2 separate regions of the Homo sapiens genome follow, and region 1 is linked to region 2. Evidence: promoter capture Hi-C in 16 types of primary human blood cells and fetal thymus (Javierre and others, 2016). All regions are on one chromosome and are shown on one strand. Each heading gives the region's core, a stretch centred on a gene start or on the middle of the fragment in contact. The rest is flanking DNA. Distances are from core to core; before and after follow the strand shown. Region 1 has its middle 42 kb from the start of SCRT2. Region 2 holds the start of CSNK2A1 (casein kinase 2 alpha 1).

What was found. The method cuts DNA at HindIII sites, captures the fragments that hold promoters and counts their contacts. A CHiCAGO score of 5 or more calls a contact.
Region 1: a fragment that was not itself captured here is called in contact with the fragment with the promoter of CSNK2A1 in region 2 in 2 of 17 cell types (megakaryocytes and M2 macrophages); the score reaches 6.2 in megakaryocytes.

The regions. Positions count from the first base shown.
Region 1 is chr20:714,813-721,188 of GRCh38, reverse strand. No RefSeq gene overlaps it. Among named protein-coding and RNA genes, the nearest start is that of SCRT2, 42 kb to the right of the region's middle. RefSeq lists an enhancer at 790-1,294. The HindIII fragment of the contact is 3,874 bases long and covers 2,891-6,376 here.
Region 2 is chr20:541,195-547,165 of GRCh38, reverse strand. CSNK2A1 (casein kinase 2 alpha 1) reads left to right here and starts at 3,376. Exons shown (of 14, transcript NM_177559.3): 1 at 3,376-3,494. RefSeq lists enhancers at 2,911-2,970, 3,081-3,130, 3,241-3,320, 3,341-3,490, 2,976-3,669 and 1 more and a silencer at 3,811-3,870. The HindIII fragment of the contact is 12,556 bases long and covers 1-4,128 here.

The DNA.
Region 1 (6,376 bases), core at 3,578-6,077, 170 kb before region 2:
CACCTCAGATTCCTCAGGTGTAAAAGGAGCTAATGTTCTTCACCACCCAGGGAAGCTGACAGGGATGAGTGCTAAGGCACAAGAGGGGATAAATCTTGACTCCACCACTGGGCAGATGACTTAATCCCTCATTTTCCCCATCTATTAGATGGGGACGATTATATTTGCTTGGCCAGGTTGCTCTGATCTGAAACTGCATTCATCCAGGTAAACACTCTGCACAGAGCCTGGCATGTGGTAGATGCCTGGGGCAGTTGTGGATGGGACACAGTCTCTCTTCAAGAAAAAGCTTGTCCTTCAGCAGCAAGGAGGGCAGCAAGGTGACAGCCTCCAGCTGCAGCTCCTCCAGGAGCCGCCTTGGCTTTGGAACTGAGGCCATGTTCTTCCCAGGTCGTCCCAGCCAGACTGAGCTAGCAGAGGCACCAGGGCCTGGCCATTTCTGCCCCATGTGGGGCTTCTCTGTGGATAATCTTTACTCCAGAGACCCCTAGAGGGTGACTCTGCAGGCCCGGGCTGTGGTCTGAGGCTCTCCTGGCCAATTCCATTCCCTCCTGCTTTGTGTTTCACAGGTAGCAGCCCTCACTAACCCCCTTGCCCTCCTAACTCTCTCCCAGCACCAGCACCGAGGGGCACCCAAACTGAAAGGCTGCTCAATGGAGCAGTGGTTCTCAAAGTGTGTCCCAGAACCCCCAGCATCAGCATCAACCAGGATCCTGTAAGACATACACATTCTCAGGCCACACCCTACATTTAGAGATGGAAATGCCTGGAAATCTGCATTTTAACTGATCCTTCCAATGCACTCAACTTGGAGAACTGCTGTCACAGAGGACAACAATCAGTAAGATATGCACAGCAGTGTGGCCAGGGTGTGTGTGTGTATGTGTATGCACGCACACGTGCCTGTGTGTGTTTTGTGGGAAGGGGAGAATGTTTATCACAGCCTCAGCAATTTACCACCCCCCAAGGCCCTCCCTCATTTATTTCAAGAACCCCGAGGGCTAGGCCAACAAGCCTCCCTCCCTGCCCATTCAGGAGGAAGGTCCAGTCCCAACCTCCAGCTGGAGACTCTGCAGGCCCAGTCTGTGAGGCTGCACATAAGCCCAGCCTTCTTTCCTCCTGCTCCTACGCTCTCTCCCCGCCTTCCTCCCCAGGGGCACCCAGCCCCAACCGCCCGCCTCCTCTTTGTCTGCCAATCTGTCTCCATCCCGTGATGAGCTCCCGGCCTCAGCCAGCCAGTCTGTGCTCCATCTTCAGGATGGAGAGTGAGGCCTCGATGCTCCCAACTACTTCCCACTCACCCTGGTGAAAGGTCACTGAGAATGGTTCATGCCACCAGCTTCACTTCCGCCTCCCAACCCGTCGCCCAGGTGGAGACCCTGCCCAGTCTAGGCCAATAATCGCATCTCCTGATGGATAGGAGACATCCTATCCATCCTATCTTCAAGAAAAAGCTTGTCCTTCAGCAGCAAGGAGGGCAGCAAGCTGACAGCCTCCAGCTGCAGCTCCCCCAGGAGCCGCCTTGGCTTTGGAACTGAGGCCATGTTCTTCCCAGGTCGTCCCAGCCAGACTGAGCTAGCAGAGGCACCAGGGCCTGGCCATTTCTATCCTATCCTATCCTTAGATAGGGAGACATCCTCCCTATCTAAGACACTCAAAACCTCATTATGTGACAAGAGAGGACAAAGGGGACAGAGGTGCAGAGGCTTGCCCAGGGTCACATACCAAGAGAGGGGAGCAGCCAGGAGTTGGCCCCTGCTCTCTCCTTCCACCTCAGATTCCAACTCCCAGGCCCTGGCAGGTGGCAGGTGATGGTTCTGAGGTGGTCACGTGTGGCGGGGACACTGTTGGCCCTGGAAAACCAAGACCTTTGTGAACTCACAAAAGCAGCACGTGCTTCTTTCTCTAGTGGGCGTGGTGGTCCCTGTCCTGCTCACCGATGCCACAGCCCTGCAAATAAGGCTCAGGCAGGGGGACACTGCCTGTGGGTCACATGGCTGCCTTCCCTTTTCTAAACTGTCAGTAGGTGATACATCAGCACCTTCCTTCATGATGCCCAGCCCATCCCTCATCCTGCCCCACCTCAAGGAACCCTGGAATGTCAGGGCCAGAATAACAGTGACAGTTATGACAGATTACTTGCTATGTGGCAGGCATGACTGGCAAGTGCTCCAGACATCATTGTATTTATTTATTTATTATTATATTTTTTATTTTATTTATTTGTTTTGAGACAGAGTCTCACTTTTTTGCCCAGGCTGGAGTGCAGTGGCTCAATCCTGGTTCCACTGCAACCTCCACCTCCCGGGTTCAAGCGATTCTCCTGCCTCAGCCTCCCAAGTAGCTGGGATTACAGGCGCCCGCCACCACACCCGGCTAATTTTTGTATTTTTAGTAGAGACAGGGTTTCACCATGTTGGCCAGGCTGGTCACGAACTCCTGACCTCAAGTGATCCACCCGCCTCAGCCTCCCAAAGTGCTGGGATTACAGGCATGAGCCACCGCGTCCGGCCCATCATCGTATTTCATTCTCACCAGGAGCGCATGACAGACATGCAGCTCTCAGCCCACTCTACTGACATGGACATAAAACTCAAAGAGACAAAGCACTTTAACTCCAACTGCGCTAGACCAACTCCTCCATTTGATAGATGGGGAAGCTGAGTCCCAGAGAGGTGACATGATTTCTCCAAAGACACACACTAGTCAGTGTCAGAGTCAGCCTTTTCCAGGCAGCTTACCCCCTGAGAGTGACCATAGTTCACTCACACGCCACTTTAGAGTTTGTCAAGCTCTCCTCTCCTCTCAGGAAGGGAAGGGTTTCTTTTGTTTAATGGTTCTCACTCTGGGATGCTTATATGATGTGCCAAGCAAGCATGGTTTGAAAGCTTTGTAAACATTAACTCATTTAATGCTCACAAATACCCTATGATGCAGATATGTTTATTGCCCCCATTTTGCAAATGAGGAAACAGGCACAGAGAGCTGGAGTAAACTGCCTAAAGTCACACAGCCAAGATTCAAATCCAGGCTGCCTGAGGTATTAACTACTATGATGTTCTGCCCTTTTTACTGCCAAAAAAGCCTGAGGCTCAAGGAGAGGACATGACTTGCATGAGGCCACACACTAGAGTGGTGGTGGCTGGACTGGAGCCCAGGCGTCCTGCCTCCACGCCCAGCGCTGGCTCTCCACCCCCCGCCCCACTCCACGGGGCTCTTTCTCACTCTATGTTGATTCACAAACATCAGTTGGGAGCCTTCTTTGGCCAGGAGGTCTGCCTCAGTTCCCCTACCTAACAGGTGAGGCAAACAAGAAACAGACACCTAAAAAACAAATGGATAAATGGGTTCATGGAGGTACCAGAGGCAGCTGTGGGAGTACCAGGCAGGACACAGAGCCACCCTGGGAAAAAGAGAAGGCTTCTGGAAGTCTGATCCTTGAGTTGAATCTCCAAGTTCAAGTGGCACCCTTTCCGGAAGGACAGAATGGAATAGGGCATCCCAGACTGAGGAAACAGCACGTGCAAGGGTTGGGGTATGGGAGAGTGTAAATTGTTGTGAAAAGTACTGTTCAACCCCACGCAAGGGAGGGCACAGAAAAGGCTGTCCTGGAGGATCATGGAAAGAGTCTCAGAGAGTCAGAACGCGGGAGTCCTGACCACAAATCTGCCCTGTCTCACAGTGACCTTGGTATTCCCATCTGTAAAATGGATTGATATCTAAGCACTCTGCCAGCTCCATCCTTCAGCTGGTGGAGTTAGGATGGCTTTGAGTAGGGGGCTGGTTTTGATGTGAGGGCAGAAGGTAAGGGAGGAAAGGCATTCTGGAAAGGAGGACCTGTAGGAGCAAAGGTCCAGAGAGAGAAAGTGCAGAGCAGGCATTAGAAATGGTAAGGACGGCCAAACACGGTGGCTCACGCCTGTAATCCCACTACTTTGGGAGGCCAAGGCAGGAAGATTTCTTGAGTCCAGGAGTTCAAGACCAGCCTAGACAGCATAGTGAGACCCTGTCTCTATGAAAAAAAAAAAAATAGCTGGGCATGATGGCAAGCACCTATAGACCCAGCTACTTAGGAGGCTGAGGCAGAAGGACTGCTTGAGCCCAAGAGGTCAAGGCTGCAGTGAGCTGTGATTATGCCACTGCACTCCAGTCTGATCAACAGAAAGAGACCTTGTCTCAAAAAAAGCAAGCAAGCAACGGTAAGGAGAGGATGTAGCTGCTGTTGATGGTCCATTGGATGGTGCAGACAGGGGACACATATGAAGAAGTTGTATCAGTCTGGACTCTTCAGTTAGAAGTGAAAGAAATAAAAAAAAAAGTAATTATTAATTTATATAACTGAGAAGCCCAGGGCACTGGCTTCTGTTATGGCTGAATCCAGGTGCTGACATGTTACTGTGAGGATCCTGTCTCTCTCTCTATCATGGCTTTGATTTCTTTCTTGTAGGCCTCACTCTCAGGCAGCCTGTAACCTCATGGAGGCAAAGGTGGCCACCACTACCTCTGGAATCCATCACACAAACTACACTTCTGGTGGAAAGGCTCCCAGTAGCCCCACAAAAACCTCAGAAGCAGCTCTTGCCAGACTTACTTCCTAGAATTGTCATGAAGATTAAAGAAGTTAATAGAGCTTAGCCCAAGCTCTGGTACACAGCAGGTCCTCAGTCTTTGCTGTAGCTCAGCCAGAGAACTTGACATTATCCTGGACTATTCTCTGTCTTCACATCTAACATTAGATCTGTTTGCAAATCTTATTGGATCTACATATAAAAGAGATCTAGAATGCATACAGTTCTTCCCACCTCCACTGATAACAGTCTAGTCCAAGCCACCTTCATCTCCCTACTTTGTTTTCTAAGTTTTATATGTATATAGTATATTTATATAGTAATATATTCATGTATTCAATTCAATTGTGAACACAATTTAGACGTGTACATCCAGCTCAATGAATCTTCACACAGTGAGCAGATGATGTAACCTCCCTCAGATCAAGATACAAGACACCGACAGCACCCCAGAAGCCTCCTTCATCCCCGCTCCTAGTTATTCACCCCCTTGGTAGTGTGTCCTTTCATGTGTCTGAGTCACTAGCATTCACCTGGCTTAGTGCACTGGTTCCCAGCAAGTCTCTGGCTTTCTCTCTTGCCCTCTTATCCCTTTCAGTTAATCCAATCGATTCAGAGATCCTGTAAAAGATGTCCTCCCTCTGCTCAAAATCCTCCCATGGCTCCCATTTCATTTGGTGTAAAAGCCAAAATCCTCTCCATGGCCTGCAAGGTCCTACACAAGCTGACACCTCATCCCTCCCTCTCCCCACTTTCCCCACATAACTCTCTGCTCCAGCCATACGTGCTCCCTTCCTTCCTCAAACACACTACCCGCACTCTCAGCTATACACGCAGGAGACCATTGTACTTGCTGTTCACACTGCCTAGAATCTCCTTCCTCTCCCCACTCCCATATCCTCTTGGTTCACTCCATCAACTCCTTCAAGTTTGTGTTCAAATGTCACCTTCTCATATCTGCTTCCACCCAAGATGGAGTATCAGAAACTGAATTTACTCTCCTGCTTGAAACAATCAAACAAACAAACCAAACCAGGCAAAATACATGAAACTGTAATTTTTAAGACTCTAGGCAACAGGCAATAAAGGATCATGATCCCTGAGAAGTGGGAAATAAGATGAACCCTATCATGGCCTCAGTTTGCCGCTTGGAGAGAGTTTTCAGAACCTAGTGCAGGGAGGAGGAACCCAGGCAGCACCCAGGAGGCTTCCTGAGTTAAGGAAATAGAGTTGAGAGTCCAGGAAGGACAAAGAGGGCAGAGTTTGCAGGACACAGTATTGGGAGGAAAGAGTTGCACAGAGAGACTATTCCAGAGATATGAAGAAAGTCCCCCTTGAGTATTAGACTGAGTACTGGTTGGTGCTTTTGTATGATAAAACTACACTGAAGTAGGGGTGAAAATCATCTGATAAGATTAGAGAACAGTGCTCAGCACTCACACAAAACCAGAAATATTAATAAACAGAAAAAACCCTCATAATTTCTGGGGTACTGGGTAGAGTGCTCAGGAAGGTCTTTTCTCAACAGTGGTATATAATTAGCCCTCAACAGATAGCACTGCTCTGGACCCACTCAACAAATTATAAAAGCAAGACTAGGAAGGATAAAACTGTTTCCAAGTAACTTAATTGCATCTTAGAGCAAAACTGAAGGAGATTTATAGAAATATAAAAGTGTACAGCACCCAACAAGGGTAATGTTCACAATGCCTGGCATCCAAAGTTTACCATGCACGTAAATAAGCAAGAAAACATGGCCCATACAAGAATAATAATCAATCAATTGAAACTGACCCAGAACTGATACA
Region 2 (5,971 bases), core at 2,127-4,626:
TGCTGCTTTTGTTTTCTTTCTTCTGGGGGCCGTCATGTAAGTAAGCCTGAGTTAGCTTACTGAAGAAGCAACATGGAGGAGAACCAAGGCACTCAAGCCAACAACCCCAACCAACTGCCAGACATGTGAATGAGGCCATGGAGTTCTAACCAGTTTGCTGGCCTGTTCACTGACAGCAAACGTAAGAGTAAGCCAGGAAAGACCACTTGGAGCAGAAAAGAGCTGTCCTGGCTGAGACATGTCCAAACTGCCAATCCACACAAACATAAAATATTGTTGTTTTAAGCCACTATATTGTGGGGTGATTTTGTTAAGCAGCAATAGAAAGCAAATACACTTAGGTTCTTAGTGCATGATTAAAACTTTTGCCTGTAATTCTAGCACTTTGGGAGGCCAAGGCAGGGGAACTGCTTGAGCCTAGGAGTTCAAGACCAGCCCTGGCAACATAGCAAGACCCCATCTGTACAATAATAATAATAGTAATAATAATACTACTAAATTAAAAATGAGCCAGGCATGGTGGTGCATGTCTGTAGTCCTAGCTACTCAGGAGGCTAAGGTGGGAGGATCGCTTAAGCACAGGAGTTCAAGGTTATAATGAGCTGTGATCATGCCACTGCACTCCAGCCTGGACAACAGAGCAAGATCCTGTCTCAAAAGAGAGAGAGAGAGAGAGAGTCACTCTAATGGCCCAGGTTGAAATGCAAGCTCCATCTCCGGCATGTGACCTTGGGCATGGCCTGTGATCTCTGTGAACCTGAGTCTCCTCATCTGTACGGTGAGATACTTTTGGTTTCTACCTCATCAGGTTGACATGAGGATTAAGTGAGATGATGAACATTCAGTGTGTGGCACAGTGCAAGTACTCTCAACATCTTAACTCTTGCTTCTGCTGCTGTTGTTTGCAGAAAGACTAGCCTGAGAGGTGTGATGTGGGGGATCAGAGACAGTAAGAGTTAAGGATAAATGTTAAGTCTACAACTAGGTGAACACTTGGGATGGGAAGCCTCTTGAGACCGGAGACCTACATGAGGCTGGCGTAGTAGACGGCAGGAGTTGGGTTTCAATTATGTCCTGCATGAGTATGAGGGTTGTATATGTGTGCCCAGGTGAGCCCTCTGAATGAAGTCATGGATAGAGGCCAGAACTAGGAAGAAGAATGAAGAACTAATGCTGTGAGAGAGGCTGAGATTGGAAAGGCATGAAGGCTAAGCAATGGGAAATATCCTCACTACACTCAGATGAAAACCCAGCTTCCTTATCATGACCTGAATGCCCTGCCCACCTCTCCCACCATATTTCTTCCTCTTCTTCCCTTTATTTGCAGTGCTTCAGCCACCATGGCCTCCTTCTTCAAACTTGTGATGCTCTTTCCTGCCTTGGGACGTTTGCACTTACTGTTTCCTTCTCAAAGGGACCTTCTGAACCACTCAAGCTAAAGCTCTATACTTCACAGCTACTTATCTTTTCCTTTCGTAGCACTTATTGCTACCTGAAATTACTTTGTTTATGCATTTGTTTACCTGTGCATTACTTGCTTCTCACTTTAGAAGGTAAGCTCCACCAGTGAGCAACTGGTGTATGTCTTCCTCATAACACATCCCCAGTACCTAGCACAGTGTCTGGCTCATAGCAAATGATGAATTGTTGTGAGTTAAACAAATGTGAATACAGTTGGGAAAAACAAAGCCACAAGAGCCAAAAAGATACGTTCGAGAGGTAGGTAGAAGGGTATCATTTCCTGGAAGATGGCTTCCCAGAAACTTTGGGATTATCTTGTATAACCTCCTCAGTCCACAAGTGGGGAAATTGAGGCCCAGTTACAGGACACTGAGAGAAAAACTGTTGTGGGTTCCCAGGCAATTGGGATCAGATGTCACAAGCTGTCTAGCAGATGAGGTCCAGAGAAGGCCACAGCCACCTCCCTGAGGCCATCACTATAAGTCTGCAGCCACCACCAGCCCTAACCCCACATGGGGAAGAGGTGCCTCTTTGGGAGCAGAGGTGCTAGTCAGCTGACAAACTGTGAAGGCAGGGCTGTGGAGGGTGGAGAGGCCCATTCCTGAGACAACCAGCTATTCTGAGACAGTTAGGGATAATGGTTGGTACTGAAAGAACCTGGCCTCCTCACCCTCGTTCCAGTGCTCACACCTCTGTCCCACCAGAGGTGAGACTAATACTTGAACTCCTTTCAGCAACTCTTAGACGCTTCAGCTTTTATCAGGGCCTGCAAAGGAGAGGTTGATCATCAGATGGAGCCCTGTCCACTGGGGGCTCCCAGTCTGATGGAGGAGACAGACTGAGGTCCTCAGGTTACTGACTGATAGTGTCTGGGTTGGAGGGAGTTAAACAGAGAGGAGACCCCTAGAGGAAAGGATCCCTGAATTAGTTCAATCGGCATACAGAAATTATCCAGTCCATGAGGTGACAGTAAGAGAAGTAACTGCCAGTGTAAAGGGAGGGAGGCAACACAGCTAAGTTCCAGGAATTGTTTGCAGTCTTGTGGGTGGAATCTTCCGGAATTTGAGAAGAGAGTGGCAGAATAGGAGGCTGGAAAGGAGGGTTTGGCCAAATTATGGAGGACTCTGAATGTCAAGTGAAGAGTTTGGGCTATCTTTGGTGCATAAAGAGGTCCATGGGAGATTTTTGACCATAGGGAGACCATGATGAGCTCTGCATGGTAGAAAGTGCTTTGTGGCTGTTTTGGGGAGGTAGCTCGGGCAAGGAGAGCAGGGGTGGGAGGCAGATAGAAGGAAAAAAAAACACTGTATTTTGGACGCACAGCTCTTGGCAGGACTCCTGTAGGAGGAAGGAATTGGGCCTTGGTCTCTTGAGAGCTAGTATCCTCACTTCTCAGACTCCTGCGCCATGCCCTTCCTAGGGTCCAACTTTCATTCACTTCTTCCGAACTCCAAGTTTGAATAGAAAGTGTTGCTGAAACCCTAATTTAAAACGAGGGGTCAGAGCAAAAGAGACTTCAGCTCCCAGAATGCTTGGCTCTACAGCTCTGCAGGTCGCGCATGGTTCTTTTCAAGAAAGGGGGGCCAGCTGGGTGAAGTGTGGGAAACCTGGGTACCGCCATCTTAACTTGGGTCAAACCAACTGTTCACCTAATGGGAGGTTCGTGTTCTCTCTGTTGTCACTTGTTAACACTATTGAAATAAAATGCGCTTAACTATTGCAAGTCTCCTTATTCTGCTTTGCGTTGGGGATTCCTTCCATTTTGCACCCTAGGCCAGAACTGAATCCCTAAGGTTACAATAGGACATCCCAGCATGGCCGCATTCAGAGAGATTCCTCTGGGGGCGGAGTCGGAAGCTGTCTCGCCCCGCCTCCTGGTAGGAGGGGGTTTCCGCTTCCGGCAGCAGCGGCTGCAGCCTCGCTCTGGTCCCTGCGGCTGGCGGCCGAGCCGTGTGTCTCCTCCTCCATCGCCGCCATATTGTCTGTGTGAGCAGAGGGGAGAGCGGCCGCCGCCGCTGCCGCTTCCACCACAGGTACCTAGGGAGCAGCCAGGCGAGGTCGTTGGCGGGTGGGGTGGGCCCAGGATAGGGCAGCGGAGCGCGGCCGACCCTCACGCTTCCAGCAGACTCCTGAGCGGCCCGTCGCCTTCCCCTGCCCCCACCTTCACACATAAACCAAGCGAGGCCCCTGCAGCCCATCGGGGAGGCCCAGGGGCCACCCCTCAGGGCGGAGGGCGAGGTTTGGGGGCAGAGGCCGATGTGAGGGTGGGAACCGGCTGCCGGAGTCCAGCTTATTGCAGAGGAGAGGACTGAACTGGGTGGGGACTAGGGGACAACTTGGAGGAGGGGGTCGTCAGAGGGGGAAGGGAACTTGAGGGGTGGGGCCGCAGGGGGGTGCTGGGGGAGGGTGCGGAGGGAGTGGTGCCTGCTGGGTAGTGTGCAGTGAACCCTCCCGCGAAACTGGGCAGCTGGAGTAGGGGCCTTCTTAGGGTCCCTCTGGGCGGGGCTGAGCTTCCCACCTGCAGAGTGGGTGCGAGGTGGAGAGAACCCCAGGCGGGGTTGCTGGGGCGAAAGGGGGAAGGGACCAAGACGTGGGGCAGAACGTCTGGAGTTGGAGTTAAGGACTAGTTAGGAGCCTGGATAGAAAAAGAGGTATGGAGAGAAAGCTTGGCTAAGGGTATACATATGTTGGTGACCTTTTGAAAGAGTAGGACTTTTCAATTTTGTTTTTCGTTGTGTGTTTTTTGCAGTGTTGGAACATTGCTAGATTAAGCAGGTGATGGGTGGAGCTTCTGTAGTTTGTTTTGGGGAAGCAGAGTCAGGGTCAGGAGAAGTTGCATCTTGGCTATTGCTTTGTGTGGAGGAAAGAGTTTTGAAAAGAAGGTGGCAAATTATTTGGGAAGACTTGATTACTTTTCAGCTGTTTAATTCTACGAGAATGGGACATGGGGAGAGGAAATGAAAACTAAGAAGAGAGGCCGGGCGTGTGGCTCACGCCTGTAATCCCAGCACTCTGGGAGGCCGAGGCGGGTGGATCACGAGGTCAGGAGTTCGAGACCAGCCTGACCAACACGGTGAAACCCCGTCTGTACTAAAAATGCAAATATCAGCCGGGCTTGGTGGCGCGCGCCTGTAATCCCAGCTACTCGGGAGGCTAAGGCAGGAGAATCGCTTGAACCTGGGAGGCGGAGGTGGCAGTGAGCTGAGATCCGCCACTGCACTCCAGCCTGGGCGACAGAGCGAGACTCCGCCTCAAAAAGAAAAAAGAAAACTAAGAAGGGAAGATTTTTCCAAGAATTGGAGACTTCATTCCATCTGAGGAGTGCAGTGTAGGCCCAGTGGTTAAAAACCAGACTGCCTAGGTTCTCAAATATCAGGGCCATTGCTACTTAGCTGTGTGACCTAAACTCTCTAAGCCTCAGTTTTCCCGTCTGTAAAAGGGGGATGATGGTATTTTCTAGCTTGTGAGTTTACGGAGAAGAGTAAATAAGACAATTTGTGTCAAGTGCTTACTACAGTGTCTGGCAGGTAGTAAGTGTAGTAAGTAGCTTTTACCTGTCACTGTAAAGGGACTAGCTGGTATATTTGGGGCTCTTCTGTTCTAAGTAAAATTTATAGTCAAGAATTTGACTGTAGACAGGGCTTTAGAGTAGTATCTTTGTAGTTGTTGTAGGGTTTTGTTGTAAGTCATTTGGCTTTACTGGCTTGGTGGACCTGGGGCTGAAAGTCCAGTACCAATACTAGTTCTCCTCCGTGGTATTCTCAAAAGTTCACCTGCAGTCTTAGCAGGGCATGTTTTTGTCCTTCTGTGACTTTGAAATACTTGGCTTTGGTTTGCTATTGCGGGAGGGTGTATGACTTGAAGAAAGAATGCAAGATTGGAAATTTGCTTAGATTGATTAATCAACTGATTATACAGTTAGGTCCCCGTGAGGTGACTTTTCTTTAAAAATAAAAAAAAGCCTAGTTATGTACTCCTTTGTGGAATACAGAGAAGAGAAATACACATTTAAGGAGGAGCATGGGTTAGTTTCTAAGTAGTTATGGGTGAAGTGCCTTGCAATTTGAGGATGAAACAGGTGGCAACTCCTTTTCCATACTGCGCGTCCTTTTCCTACTCACTCATCCAGAGTGAGTCCTTGTTTTTACTATTGTCTCTATCTCTGAACATACATCTTTGTGTCACATAAGTAAAGACATATGTATGTATGTATATATACTTTACTTCACATAAGTAAAATATATACATCTTTACTTCACACTCTGTTAAAGAAAGGGATGATTTTCTTTAGGAAGTGAGTTTAAACCCTTCCATAGGACTTGGATTTGTAGTAGGCAGAATTACATCTCCCTCTTCCCAAGGTGCCATACCTTGATCCCCAGAATCTGTAGCTATCCTGTGTTACATGGCAAAAGGAACTTGGCAGGTGTAATTAAGGTTAAGAATCTTAAAATAGAAAAATTATCCTGGATTTTCTGGGTGGGCCGAATCTAGTCACTTAAGTCCTTAA